3 separate regions of the Homo sapiens genome follow, and all the other regions are linked to region 2. Evidence: promoter capture Hi-C in 16 types of primary human blood cells and fetal thymus (Javierre and others, 2016). All regions are on one chromosome and are shown on one strand. The core of a region is centred on a gene start or on the middle of the fragment in contact, and the rest is flanking DNA. Distances in the headings are between cores, read along the strand shown.

Region 1 (4,344 bases), core at 461-2,960, 400 kb before region 2:
GAGTGACTCAAGACCCAGCAATAAGGGAAAAAGAAAATGATGAGGGGTAAAGTGGAGGAAGGCTGTAACCACAGGGAAGTGGCTGGGTGAAGAATCAACCTATACATCATTTCAGTTGGGAGAAATTTTGCTGGAGAAACACAGAACACATTAGCCTTTGCTACCATGAGGTCTCATACCAAAGCAAAGAGCTAACATTGCCGAGATACTATGTACTTGATTTTGTGCTAGCTCTTTGCATTCAGTATTTTATTAAATCTTCTTCAGAAACATTATTATCCATATTATTAAGATGAGGACTCTATTTCTTAAAAGTGAAGTGACTTGCCCAAAATTATGAGTAGTAAATTCTGGAATTTGTACATAGGTTGGTCTCACTCCGGAGTCCCAACACTATATTACTATAGTACGTATGCTGTCAATTCTAAGATGGCATTAATGGGGATAAATATCATCATGTCACTCTGCTCCTTATAATCCTTTATTAGATTTCTATTGCCTGTTGGATACAATTCAACTTGTTCTTCGTTACGTAATGCCCATCAGGATTGGGACTTGCCTACCTGCAAAGATTCATTTCCATAGCTCCACCTTCCCATTGAATCTCAGCTACACATAGTCTACCTGCTGTTGAAAGTGCCAAAGGGCCTCCTTGCCTGTGTACACTATGTCTTCCTTTCTCTTCTGCAATATTTCTCTCCCTGCATCTTGCCCTTTTCCAGCCACTCCCTCTCCCACCAAACAGTGAGTGAGTTTTTTTGAGACTCAGTTCCACTCTCTCACCTTCTTTGACACATTCTCTGAAAGCTTATCTAACAGTCCTACTGCTTTATATTCATTCATTCAACAAATATTTATCAGATTCCTACTGAGGATATAATAGTTAATGAGAAAAGAACCTTGATCATGCAAATCTGGCAAGTAGTGAACTCGATGTAAAATATTACCTATAATCTAACAAGATTTCCTGTAGAATTGAGCATGGTAATAGGACACAAAGCTATGATGTAGGGTCGGGGATGGGACAAGAAGAAGGGAGGTATTTTAAATAGGAAGGTCAAAAAAGTTTTCTCCAATGAGATCACGTTGATTAAAGACCTTTAGTGAAGAGGGGAAGTGAGCTATGAGGAGACCTGGAAAGAGAATATTCCAGACAAATGAGAACAGAAAAATCAAAAGCCCTGAGGAGGAAACAAGTTTGATGTATTGGAAGAGAGGAAGAAGATCCATGCTGCCAAGAAGAGGGGTGGGAAAGATAGGCAGAGGCTGGGTCCTGTGGGACTGTAGATCTCAACCCTAGCTGCATGTCTAAATTACCCAGAGAGCTTAAGAAACCACTGATGCTGAGACAGACCCCGCCTAAGCAATACAAGTTTAACTGAAGGGGCCCTTGCTGGGCAGTTTTTAAAACACTTCTCAGTAAGAAATATTTCTGTTATTGAAAGACACCATCAGGGGGTTCCTTCTTCAGGTTTCAGGATACTTTACAAAGAAGTAATAAGTAAGAGGAAATATCTCTATTTTTTATGAAGCCCTTCTGGGTTCTCAATTATGAATTTTAAGTTCAACTTTACAACTATCACATGAATACATTCTCACTGTTAAAAAAATTAGAAAAAAAATATAGATATATCCAAAGGCCTCCTTAACTATCTGTAATCCTTCACACAGCTAACAATGGTTATTAGTTGGACATTTATCGTTTTTGTCACTTTTTATGCGATACACGTGTTTATTCTTCTGCTGCAACTTGCTTTAAGAAAACCTGCTGAGAATGGAGTGAACCCGGGAGGCGGAGCTTGCAGTGAGCCGAGATGGCGCCCCTGCACTCCAGCCTGGGCGACAGAGCGAGACTCCGTCTCAACAACAAAAAAAAAAAAAAAAAAAAAAGAAAGAAAACCTGCTAACAGTCTTTGACATATTTCAGTGTTGGTACACTTCAGAAATAAGAATTTCAGGGGCACAGAAGATGTTCATTTAAGATTTTAATAGATATTGTCAAGCCACCTTCAATTGAGTGTACCAAATTATGTTCCTGCCAGCATTGTAAGTTAATACTAGTTTCCCCACACCCTAGTAGATACTAGATTTTATTGTATCTGAAAATGTGTCACTATGATATATAAAAGAGCATTCAATTTTATTATTGGTTAATTTTCACTTTCCCAACTTTAGAATATGTCCTCTTCTGTGAATTGCCCATTTACATACTTTGCCCTCTTATGTTTATCTTTTTTTGTTTTATTTGTACCATTTCTTTACATATTCTAAATTTAATTTTTAGCAGTTACATACATTGCAAATATTTTCTTCCAGTCCATCATTTGCCCTTTAACTTATGGAGACTTTTGTCATACAAGATCAGTTATAATGTCACATTGAGGCCAAGTCCTAAGCCCAGGTAGAGAAAGGTACAGAGAGCTGTTTGTGGGTGTCTGATAGATTATAGTGTTAAGGAAAGTACATATCAGGAAAAGTAGATACAATAGAATTATAATTTGTAAAGTAAAATTTGTTCCTTGTTCAATAAAGATTAAGCCTCTCAAATTTTTGAAAACTCCTTGGCATCTGCATATATTAGAGCACACCTCAAAGACAAGGAAATTCAGCTGTTAAGCTTAGGCAACTATAGAAGATTTTAAAAGGTTTTAACACTTCCTAAATGATATCATAAAGGAAGATGTAATTGATGAATGCTGAGTATTTACCTAAATTTGTTGAACTGGATTATGAGAATCAGAAATTATTTTCATCCTGTGCTTCAGAGAGTCTTAATTCTATAAAAATACCATTTTCATCATTGAGAGACTTCCAACTACGATGCCTTTGTAAACCAAACAGATTGCAAAGTGGTAAAGTTCTACAAACAGTTAAAATACTGTAAGTGTTATGAAACAAAAGTTCTGAATTCAACAAGCTGTGAAATACTATATTCAAAGCTGTAGCCTGTGACATCCAATTGGGGAGGTGACTTAAAATAGTGTGGTTAGGAAAGGTAGCTGCAGTGTTAACCAATGTATTTCTTTGTTTACAGTATTTTATTTCTCCATTTAGCCCTTCCCCATTGAATACATTGAGTACAGTGAAAGTATAAACAACAGGATTAAATTACTGACTTTTATACTTCAGAAGTCTGGCTCTCAGGGGCTGAAATAACAGATGTGGGAGAATTCTAATAAATAACAGTAAAATTCACAAAACATCTCCTCCCATCCCAGACTAGAAAGAATCCTCTAAATCTGAGAGGACGAGAGCAGGAAGGAATGTAATGAAAGGATTGTCAGCGGGCTTTGAAACGAGCCTAGTGAACCAGGAGGGACTGTACAGAATAGAGTGACAACTAGGATCTTCCCGCCTCCACCACAAGCACCAGCCATTGTCAGGGCCCCACAGCAGCCTAGAAGCCCAGGCAGGTCCCTGCTGCCTATGTTTGGTGAGCACCACCCCACACCCTGGTATGCTGTGGTGAAAGGACAGCACTATTAAAAGAGGGCATAATCCTATCTACATGGCAATAACCATTACTAACATCTTTGTGTTTTCTATCCACCTATCATTCCATCTTGGCAGCAGATACAGATTTCAACAGTATATAAGAAAATGGGTGAAATATTGCCATAGCTCTGTTAAGGAGTAAATTTATCACAAGCGTTCATAAATACGAACAAAAATAATTAAGCTAAGCATTTAAATCAAATATTTTAAATAAACAAAAAAGAGCAAATCTGAGGAAAGCAAGGGGAAGAAAACATTAAAGAAAAAAACAAATAAAAAAATTAAAAAGATTTTTCAGAGCAGAATTTATAAGTCAATCTAAGATCAGGCTCTTCGAAAATGCCAATCAAGGATATCTAATTAAGAAGGAAGTTCTTGAAAAAGTAAATAAGAAATATCTAAAAAGAAACAAAAAGGAGAAAAACCTGAAATAAAAAAAATGGAAAATAAGGGTAACATAAAGTTGAATGTAATCCATTTGAAAACCTTGATTCAACAGTTAATTTTAGAGAAAAAACAAATTATCATGATTGACTAAAGACAAAGGAAAAATTTAAGTAAAATGATAATCATTAAAGAAATTGGACAATTTAGGGAGGGGAAATGCACTTAAAATGGCTCTATGGCTAGTGTATTTAAGCTAAATTATTTCCGAATTTAAGGAAACAAACAACTTCCATACTATACTATATAATATTCACTTTAAAGTCTATTATTCTCTCTATTCCTATATCATGTAAAAATTGAAGGTAGAGATTTTGTTGTTTAAATATTACATAAATATCTAGTTTTAATTGTATTTGATGATCAAGTCTAGGTTAGCTCTAAATTTGAGACTTTATTTACTCC
Region 2 (4,205 bases), core at 1,496-3,995:
AAGGCTCTATTCACCCACTGGGGAACGACACTTTAATGGAGCAATGAAATACTGCTTTGTGGTCTATGGAACTCAGAGATGATGTTTCATATGGGAAATGATGTTTCATCACATAGGAAAGGAACCCACATCACATGCAGAATACTAACCCATATTCACCATACAGAATATAAAAATGGTTAAATATGAAAAGCGACATTTGCAAACAAAAATGCATAGTGATTTTCACAGCAATGGTAAAATTTGCCATATCACCAATGGCAAATTTTACATCACCAACGAAGACACTTTTGAAAGTTAAAAATAAGTTAACTTTTTTAATCCTCCAATCCCATACCTATACATAACACACGTAAACACACACACACACACACTCAAGGTACATTAATTCTAGACTCACCCAGCAGTGAGTGACTCTCATACAGGCTATTGGCTTATCAGGGAATGTTTCTCATTTTACTCTCTACTGCACATTTTCTTACTGTAAACCAAAGTAAGTGACCGTAACCAATACAGAGATGTTGCCTTACTAAATCATACTTTTACTAGTTTTGACTTTGCAGAAATAGCAAATAGGTACTGCAAAATCAAGGACTCAAATTATCAGAAGCGTTATTGAGCCGATTATTACATTTCTGCGGTATTTAAGAACAGAAAGATATTTTCATCACTATAGTTACGGCAATGTAAGTATAGGCACTGAAAATTATTTTTGTGATTCACAGAATGCAGTCTGTTCTATTTCATGTATATTGTTTTTACTCAAGAGGCATTCCTTTAACCCCTATATTAAATTATTACACATTCCAACATTTTAATGTTTTCCCAAAATTTAAATGCAAAGGTAGTTTGATTTCCAAAAATTAGTCTTCTCAATCTTTAAGTGTATTTCAAAATATAAATATAAATAAAATATTTCAAAATATAAGGCTATTTTCTACACATTGTGTATGTGTTAATCAACAGTCAAATTAAAGTTGACTGTAACACACCACAGGTACCTCTCCACTTGCCACCAGTTGAAATAAACTACCGCAGTATAGTTCCAGCAAGGGGTACTGCAAGTGTTTGAACTGAAATGTCGAATATAACTTCTTTAGGAACTCTCTTAAGCATACTCTATATGGTTATGGCAGGTATGAACTTTTTAGATAAAGATATACTCTTTTGGAAGAGCCAGTAAGAAGTAGGAACACACACAAATCCTTTTTCAAAATCAGGATGCCTCAAAAGTATTTTGGCAACATTTTCAGGCAAAGGATTAAACACCTCTTATTTAAAAGAAAACAAAACAAACAAAAAACCCAAACAAGAAAAAAAAAAACTTAGTTTGCAGTATCTCATGACCAGATTTTAGGAATGAAGAGCTTATAAAGTTGAAACAAGCCTTGCATTGCTTGATTGTGATCTAACTGACTCTAATCTCCCGTTACATCTCAAGTCTGACCAACTTCAAGTGAACTCTGAAAGCTCTGGAGCCTGGTTACTAAAGTCCCTGACACTTTTTTTCTAAAGTCGCTCACAGCGCCTGGTGCTCTGCAGACTATGAACACTCCAGGAAAGTAAGGCTGGGTTGACTGATCACCAGTGTCCCAGAATCTGTTTGGAGTCCCATGAATCAGCTGGGGAAAGAAACGAGCATTTCCCGACCAAAATGAACTCATACTCTCCAGAGCCCCGCTGACTGGGCAGGGTTCAAGACCCCTTGGTTGCCCCAGAGGAAACCAGTCTGAAATAGATTTCGGGATCTCTCACTGGGCACCTCTCCGGGCCCTTCACTCGTGTAACTTGCTTGCCTCTCTAGTAACAACTTTCTATTTAAAAAGAAGAAGATTTTTCTCCAAAGCAGCGTGCACTGAGCTCAGTAACTTTGGATCCCACGTACACAAGCTTAAAGCACACACACTTTCCCCCGCGCAGGTTCTCGGGTCCGCCGCAGACCCTAACGCAAACTCTCGGGTTCTCCGCAAACCCTAACGCAGACCTACCGTGGCCTCGCCCGCGTCGGGCTCCGCGTCCGAGAGGTCGAGTCCGGACTCGAAGGCGGCGGCGGCGGCGGGCGCCTCGCGAGGACCCGGGAGCAGCGCAGCGGCGAGCAGAGAACACGCCACAGAGAAGAAGCCCAGCAAGTGCATGGTGGAAGGACCGGGGGTGGGGGACCGGTCCGCTGGCGGGGGCAGGGGTGGGGGCGCGGGCGCCCCTGCGAGGCCGCGGGCCCCTCCTGGTCCCTCTCCCCCGGGCTCCTCCCGGCGACCCCCCCTGGGCGAGCCGGAGGCGGCGGGAGCGGGTCCGGGGCTCCGCGTTCCCAACTTTGCAGGGCGCCCTCCCAGCCAGTGCCGGGGAAAGGCGGCGGGTGTCAGGTAAAAGCCTCACAGGAAACCGGACATCCGAGCTCCCCGCATTCGGAGCCCGCGAGGTGAAGCGAGGGCGAGGGAGGACGCCGCCGCGGTCCGCGTCGGTGTAGCTTTTTGGAGAGGCGGGGCGGGGGACACCAGAACACCCCGCGATGTTCAGCCCCTCCAAACCCGCCAGAGCCCTCGTCCCCCTCCTCCCTCCCCTTCCCCGAAGTGAGAGGAGCCGGGCCGCGGGCGCTGCGGCGGGGGCGCTGGCGGCGGTGCCGGGGGCGGGAGGAGGGCGGCGGGGCGGCTGGCGGCGGCGGGGCCCGGGAGCGCCGCGGCGCAGGATCCTCCAGAGCGCGCCGGGCTGAGCGGCGGCGGCGGCGGCGGCGGGCGCAGGGGCAGGGCATGACTGACGCGCCCTCTGCCTGCGCTTATGTGAGAGAAAGCGGCCGAGGGAGGGAGCGTGCCGAGCCCGGGCTGCCCTCCCCTCTCACTCTCCCTCGGAAGCCGTCTCCCTGGAGCTCCCCGTTTCCCTCGCCTCCTCCCCGGCGGCCCCACCTCCCCCGGCCCCCCTCTGGATCTCTCCCTCCCCGCCCCTGTCCCCTGCGGGGAGCGGGCGGCCGGAGGGGCAAGTTCAGTCCCGGGGCTGGCGGTTGGCGGGACCGGCTTTAGAGGTGATGCGACCACCCTGGACCACGTGCAGCGGGGAGAAACTGGGCACCGTGGGGTGGAGGGAGCCCCCGCTTTATCCTCGGCCACTCCCGAGTTCTTGTCCTCCCTCCCGCACGCCTGGCCCCCAGAGCCCTGCTCAAAGTTTGGAAATGTCCTGGGGGTTGTAAAAGTTCCAAGAAAAGGTCATCACTATGTCAGAGAACCCTATGGGACCTCGGAGGGGTCCCCTCTCTCCCTTGGTCTGTGTAGTTGAAAGTTGCCTGATGATCCAAGAACCGCAGTTCTCAGGATGCAGTGCAGGCTGTTGGGATGGATGCTAATGATCCCTTTGGAATCCTAAACTTCTGACAGGTGAAGAGAAGGGCCAGAATCTTCGTGGAGAGTAAAGAGACACATTGTCAGCTTCTGCAAGAAGTTGGTTTACTTGAAAAAGGGGGTGATAAAGAGAGATGTGTGTGAGACATATTCCAGAAAGGATGTGTAGCATCCAAAGAAAAGTGACTGCATTTCCCCATTGGAAAAGCACTGGGGTTTCCGTTGGGCTGGTGGCATTGGCTAGCTGCCTCCTTGGGGCAGGGTGAGCAGGTTACAGAGGACCACGCTAAGGGGTTTCAACAGTGTACAGAACATCAAAAGTCTGCCTTTCACTCCCAATCTACTTTTAAGTACACAGATGTTATAGGTCCATAATATCTTACCGGAAGAAGAGACTTTCTTATCTGGTTCAACTCTAGATTTGAAACTCCTCACCCATAATTTACTTGAAGGCTTAAATATCTCAAAGGACAGGGAACCTTCCATTCTGTGTGGCTGTTCACTCCCTTTATTGATGAGCAACACTGCTGAAAAGCATTTCCTTCTATCTCTCTATTGCTTTTGACTCCTGGAGTTTTACACAATAAATCTAATCTCACTTCCACAACTGAGTCCTTCAAATATTTTGAAAATATTTATCATGGTCTCCCTAAGCTAACTTTACTCCTGGCTAAATATCCCTTTTATTCCCCAAGATGACAGTTCCAGTTTCCCCCCTTAACCATACTGTTAGCTTTCCATGTTCATGAAGTATGCGGTTGAGAACATGGCTCGGTACTTAGTGCTGTAATGAGCATGCAGAATGGACAGTATGCCTTTGTTGATACAGCCTTGGATTGAGTTTATTTTCTGGCAGCCAAATCACAGTGTTGACTCACA
Region 3 (4,076 bases), core at 280-2,779, 260 kb after region 2:
TAGCAGGATAGAATTCAAATCAAGCTTTGGATAATATACTAATGTGTTAGTGACTGTAATTAATTTTCCAATGACGCAAGATATATTTAAAATCTAATCATTGTTCTGATAATAGCATAATGTTGGCATTATTTTCAATCATCTTAAGTGTCCTGGGGTGGGGGTCAGGGAGGGTGAGGGAGGCCATACAGTCATCATTTGTCAACCAGAATCTTTCCTTTTTTATTGTTTTATAGGGGTAGAGTTGGGTCAGAATTGAGCTGAGACAAACTTGAGAAGTAAAGTAGGAACAATTTTGCCCTACTCTTCCTTTTCTGCCAATGCACATTTCTGCTCAGCCTGCTGCTTAAATGCTGCCTCCATTTGTGGTCTGATAATGGATTAAAGTGTTAGCCCTCTCAGGGTTATTTGTATTTTAATAATGCAAAGTACCACATGATTTTAAGAACTGCAAGGCTAACATTCTAAAACTGTCTCACAGGAATGTGATTCTGCTTCCTTCCAATGCCTCTGATGCACAACCTCCTCTCCTCTCTCCTTAAGAAAAGACCTTGAAGCAGGTTATGGACTCCCCAGCCTTCCTGGAGTCTAAGGAACATTTCCCTTTGTGGATGCTTACAGTGCAAGCCCGATTGGGTTCAAGAGTCAGGTGACTGTAGTTCATCAGCTGCTGAATATAGTTACATGCTGATGTCTATCAGAAGAAAACATAGTCAAGAGACATTTATGCCACCCTTAAATATATATATTAAGTTATTAAAGGATATAAAAATAATTATTCCACTAGCATCACTTTGCAGTGTCAAGATATATAGAGAGACACAATTCATAATTTTACACTTAATTAATGCAGAGTAATAAGCTAGTTTCTCCATAATTGAATAACAGCCTGTGCTGAGTCTTCTGACAGGCTTTGGGCAATAAGCTTGAATGGCCTTGCTCTGATTAGTTTAAGACATGCTTGTGAGTGTCTTTTTTTTTTTTTTTTTTGGCACAGATATGGGTGGTTTAACAGAGTATATAAATGTCAGGGAAGTCCTTTGGTTATGAACAGTGAGTCACAAAATGATTATGGACATCATAGGTTATTTATTGTAGTTCTAGGACATTTTGGAACTATGATCATTAACATAATATAGTTGTGAATCTTTTTGGTTTTCTACATCTGAGGAATTAAATGGAAAAAGGCCATCGAAGAACTTTTCACTTTCATGCTTGACTACCTTAAAGAATCCTACATAAAATAAATCCAAATTTTATTGCTTACATTTTAGAGACAGTATTTTATGAAGATGCTTAACCACCAGGATTATAAGGACAGGCAGAGATATACAATCAAACACCAAGCTTTGCTTTATCTTGAATGGTCTAGATTAAAAGGTAATAATGTTCACTACTAATTTTCAAGCATATTTAATGCCAAGCACTATAAGTACATTATCTCATTTCATCCATTTAAAACAAGCCACAAAAAAGGTACACATCTCCCCATTTTACAGTTGAAAACATTGAGGCTCATAAAGGCTTATTTGCATACTTTCAAGCGCCTACATTTCTAAATTCAAAGCTCATGCATTTCCCTCAGTGTCATGCTGCTACTCTAATTATAAAAGCAGTGTGGAAGGGACAACATGAATAATTTAATTTGACTCGTGTGTTGGCTGTTTTCCAGCTAGTTACCATCTCTTTACTATGAACTTGATTAAACAAGCCAAGCTTGGCTTAAAATAATGCTCCTCAAGCAATTTGCATCTATCTTTAAGGTTGGCAGGGAAACTGACCTCTGCCAATCTGTTTTTGCTTATAACCATAAAACATACAAGACCTTGGATAAAACCTAAAGGGAAGAAAAATGTTTTTATTATAACAATTAAGACTTACGCATGAGCTATTCATTAATGCCCTGAAAGTTGACTTTTTGGCATAGGAAATACAATCAAAATTCCAGAGACATCCCAAAACTTTTCTATCACACATTTAAAACAAAGGAACAAATGAGTTAGTAGCTAAGTGAAGCAATCTCTACAGTATTAATACAGATTTTGATATATTTTAAAACTAACCTTTAACTTATTGAGCTTATGCATAGGTTATGTATCTTACTTCCTCATGGAGATATTAGCAGATTATTTTCTGAATGATTTTTTTTTTTTGCTTTGAGTTTCTTGGAATTAGAGGTGTTAAACATCCAGTATCTTAACAATCTACTTATTTTTTAATAGAAAATTATTTTAGCAGTGTTTAGTAGTTCTCCTTGTAGATATTTCACTTTTTTGGTTAGATGTATTCCAAAGTTTTTTTCTTTTTTTTGGTATGGCTATTGTAAAAGATTGCACTCCTGATTTGGCTCTCGGCTAGAACATTATTGGTATATAAAATGCTACTGATTTTTGTACATTGATTTTGAATCCTGAAACTTTATTGAAATCATTTATCAGCTCCAGAAGCCCTTTGGTGGAGTCCATAGGGTTTTTTAGATATAGAATCATATCAACAGTTTTAAGAGAAATAATTTGACTTCTTCTTTTCCTGTTTGGAAGACTTTTATTGCTTTTTCTTTCCTGATTGCTTTGGCTAGGACTTCCAATACCATGTTGAATAGGAGCAGTGATTGTCAGCATCCTTGTCTTGTTCCAGGTCTTAAGGGGAATGCTCCCAGCTTTTGCTCGTTCAGTATAATATTGACGGTGGGTTTGTCATAGCTGAAAGAAACATAGATGATACAAACAAATGGAACAACATTCGATGCTCATGGATTGGAAGAATTAATATTGTTTAAATGGCCACACTTCCCAAAGCAGTTTACAGATTAGTGTTTTCCCATCCAACTACTAATGCTGATTTTCACAGAATTAGAAAAAACTATTCTAAAATTCATATGAAACCAAAAAAAGCCCAAATAGCTAAAACAATCCTAAGCAAAAGGAACAAAGCCAGGGGCATCACACTACCTGACTTCAAACTATACTACAAGCCTACAGTAACCAGAGCAGCATGGTACTGGTATAAAAACAGACACGTGGCCAGGCGCAGTGGCTCATCATGCCTGTAATCCCAGCACTTTGGGAGGCCAAGGCAGGTGGATCACAAGGTCAGGAGATCGAGACCATCCTGGCTAACACGGTGAAACCCATCTCTACTAAAAACACAAAAAATTAGCCGGGCGTGGTGGCAGGTACCTGTAGTCCTAGCTAATCGGGAGGCTGAACAGAAGAATGGTGTGAACCCGGGAGGCGGAGCTTGCAGTGAGCCAAGATTGCACCATTGCACTCTAGCCTGGGCGACAGAGCGAGACTCTGTCTCAAAAAAAAAACCAAAAATGACATGTACACCAATGACAGGATAGAGGACCCAGAAATAAAGTCCCACATCTATAAGTATCTGATATTTGACAAAGTTGATAATAACAAATAGGACAAAGACTCCCTATTCAACAAATGCTGCAAGGACAACTGGCTAGTCACATGCAGAAGAATGAAACTGGGCTTATCTCACAATATACAAAAATTAATTCAAGATGGATTGAAGACTTAAATGTAATACCTCAAACTATAAGAATCCTAGAAGAAAACCTAGAAAACCATGACAGTCCCCAGTGTGTGATGTTCCCCACCCTATGTCCAAGTGTTCTTATTGAGGTTGAACATTTTTTTAAACACTTTCATAAATTTGTGTTTTCAGAAGAAATTCAGAATGGGAGCAAACCTTGCATCCCTAAATTTTGTAATTAGGCTAAACTAAATGAGGTGAAATTTAACAGAAAGTTTTACTATCCGGAAGAACCACTGGCATTTCCTCTCATAAATGTTTCTTGATCTAACTTTTATATTCACAGGAAGAAAGTTTTCATGTTGATTTACCTATCAGTTTGGACAGCTTCTAATTTTACATTTCAAATAAATGTTACCTCTTGCCTTGATCTTACTTCTCATATTCACATTGTCAGTCTTCACCCTTGTCACCTATGTAACAACAATATAATCCATCATTCACCCTTTTCAGATGGGCGTTTCAATGACATCACATTCTCAAAGTGACCCCTTCTCTCAAACGAATTTTGTTTCGTGGTTTGTTTT

What was found. Contacts are between HindIII fragments. The CHiCAGO score rates a contact against its expected background, and 5 or more counts as called.
Region 1: a fragment that was not itself captured here is called in contact with the fragment with the promoter of VEGFC in region 2 in 1 of 17 cell types (endothelial precursors); the score reaches 6.3 in endothelial precursors.
Region 3: a contact is called between a fragment that was not itself captured here and the fragment with the promoter of VEGFC in region 2, in 2 of 17 cell types (megakaryocytes and endothelial precursors). The highest score is 8.0, in megakaryocytes.

The regions. Positions count from the first base shown.
Region 1 is chr4:176,390,446-176,394,789 of GRCh38, forward strand. It overlaps a transcript of LOC124900817 not described here. Among named protein-coding and RNA genes, the nearest start is that of SPCS3-AS1, 72 kb to the left of the region's middle. The HindIII fragment of the contact is 1,810 bases long and covers 806-2,615 here.
Region 2 is chr4:176,790,177-176,794,381 of GRCh38, forward strand. It overlaps VEGFC (vascular endothelial growth factor C), which reads right to left and starts at 2,746. Exons shown (of 7, transcript NM_005429.5): 1 at 1,989-2,746. The coding sequence starts at 2,135. The HindIII fragment of the contact is 3,942 bases long and covers 1,889-4,205 here.
Region 3 is chr4:177,055,729-177,059,804 of GRCh38, forward strand. No RefSeq gene overlaps it. Among named protein-coding and RNA genes, the nearest start is that of LINC02509, 180 kb to the left of the region's middle. The HindIII fragment of the contact is 369 bases long and covers 1,346-1,714 here.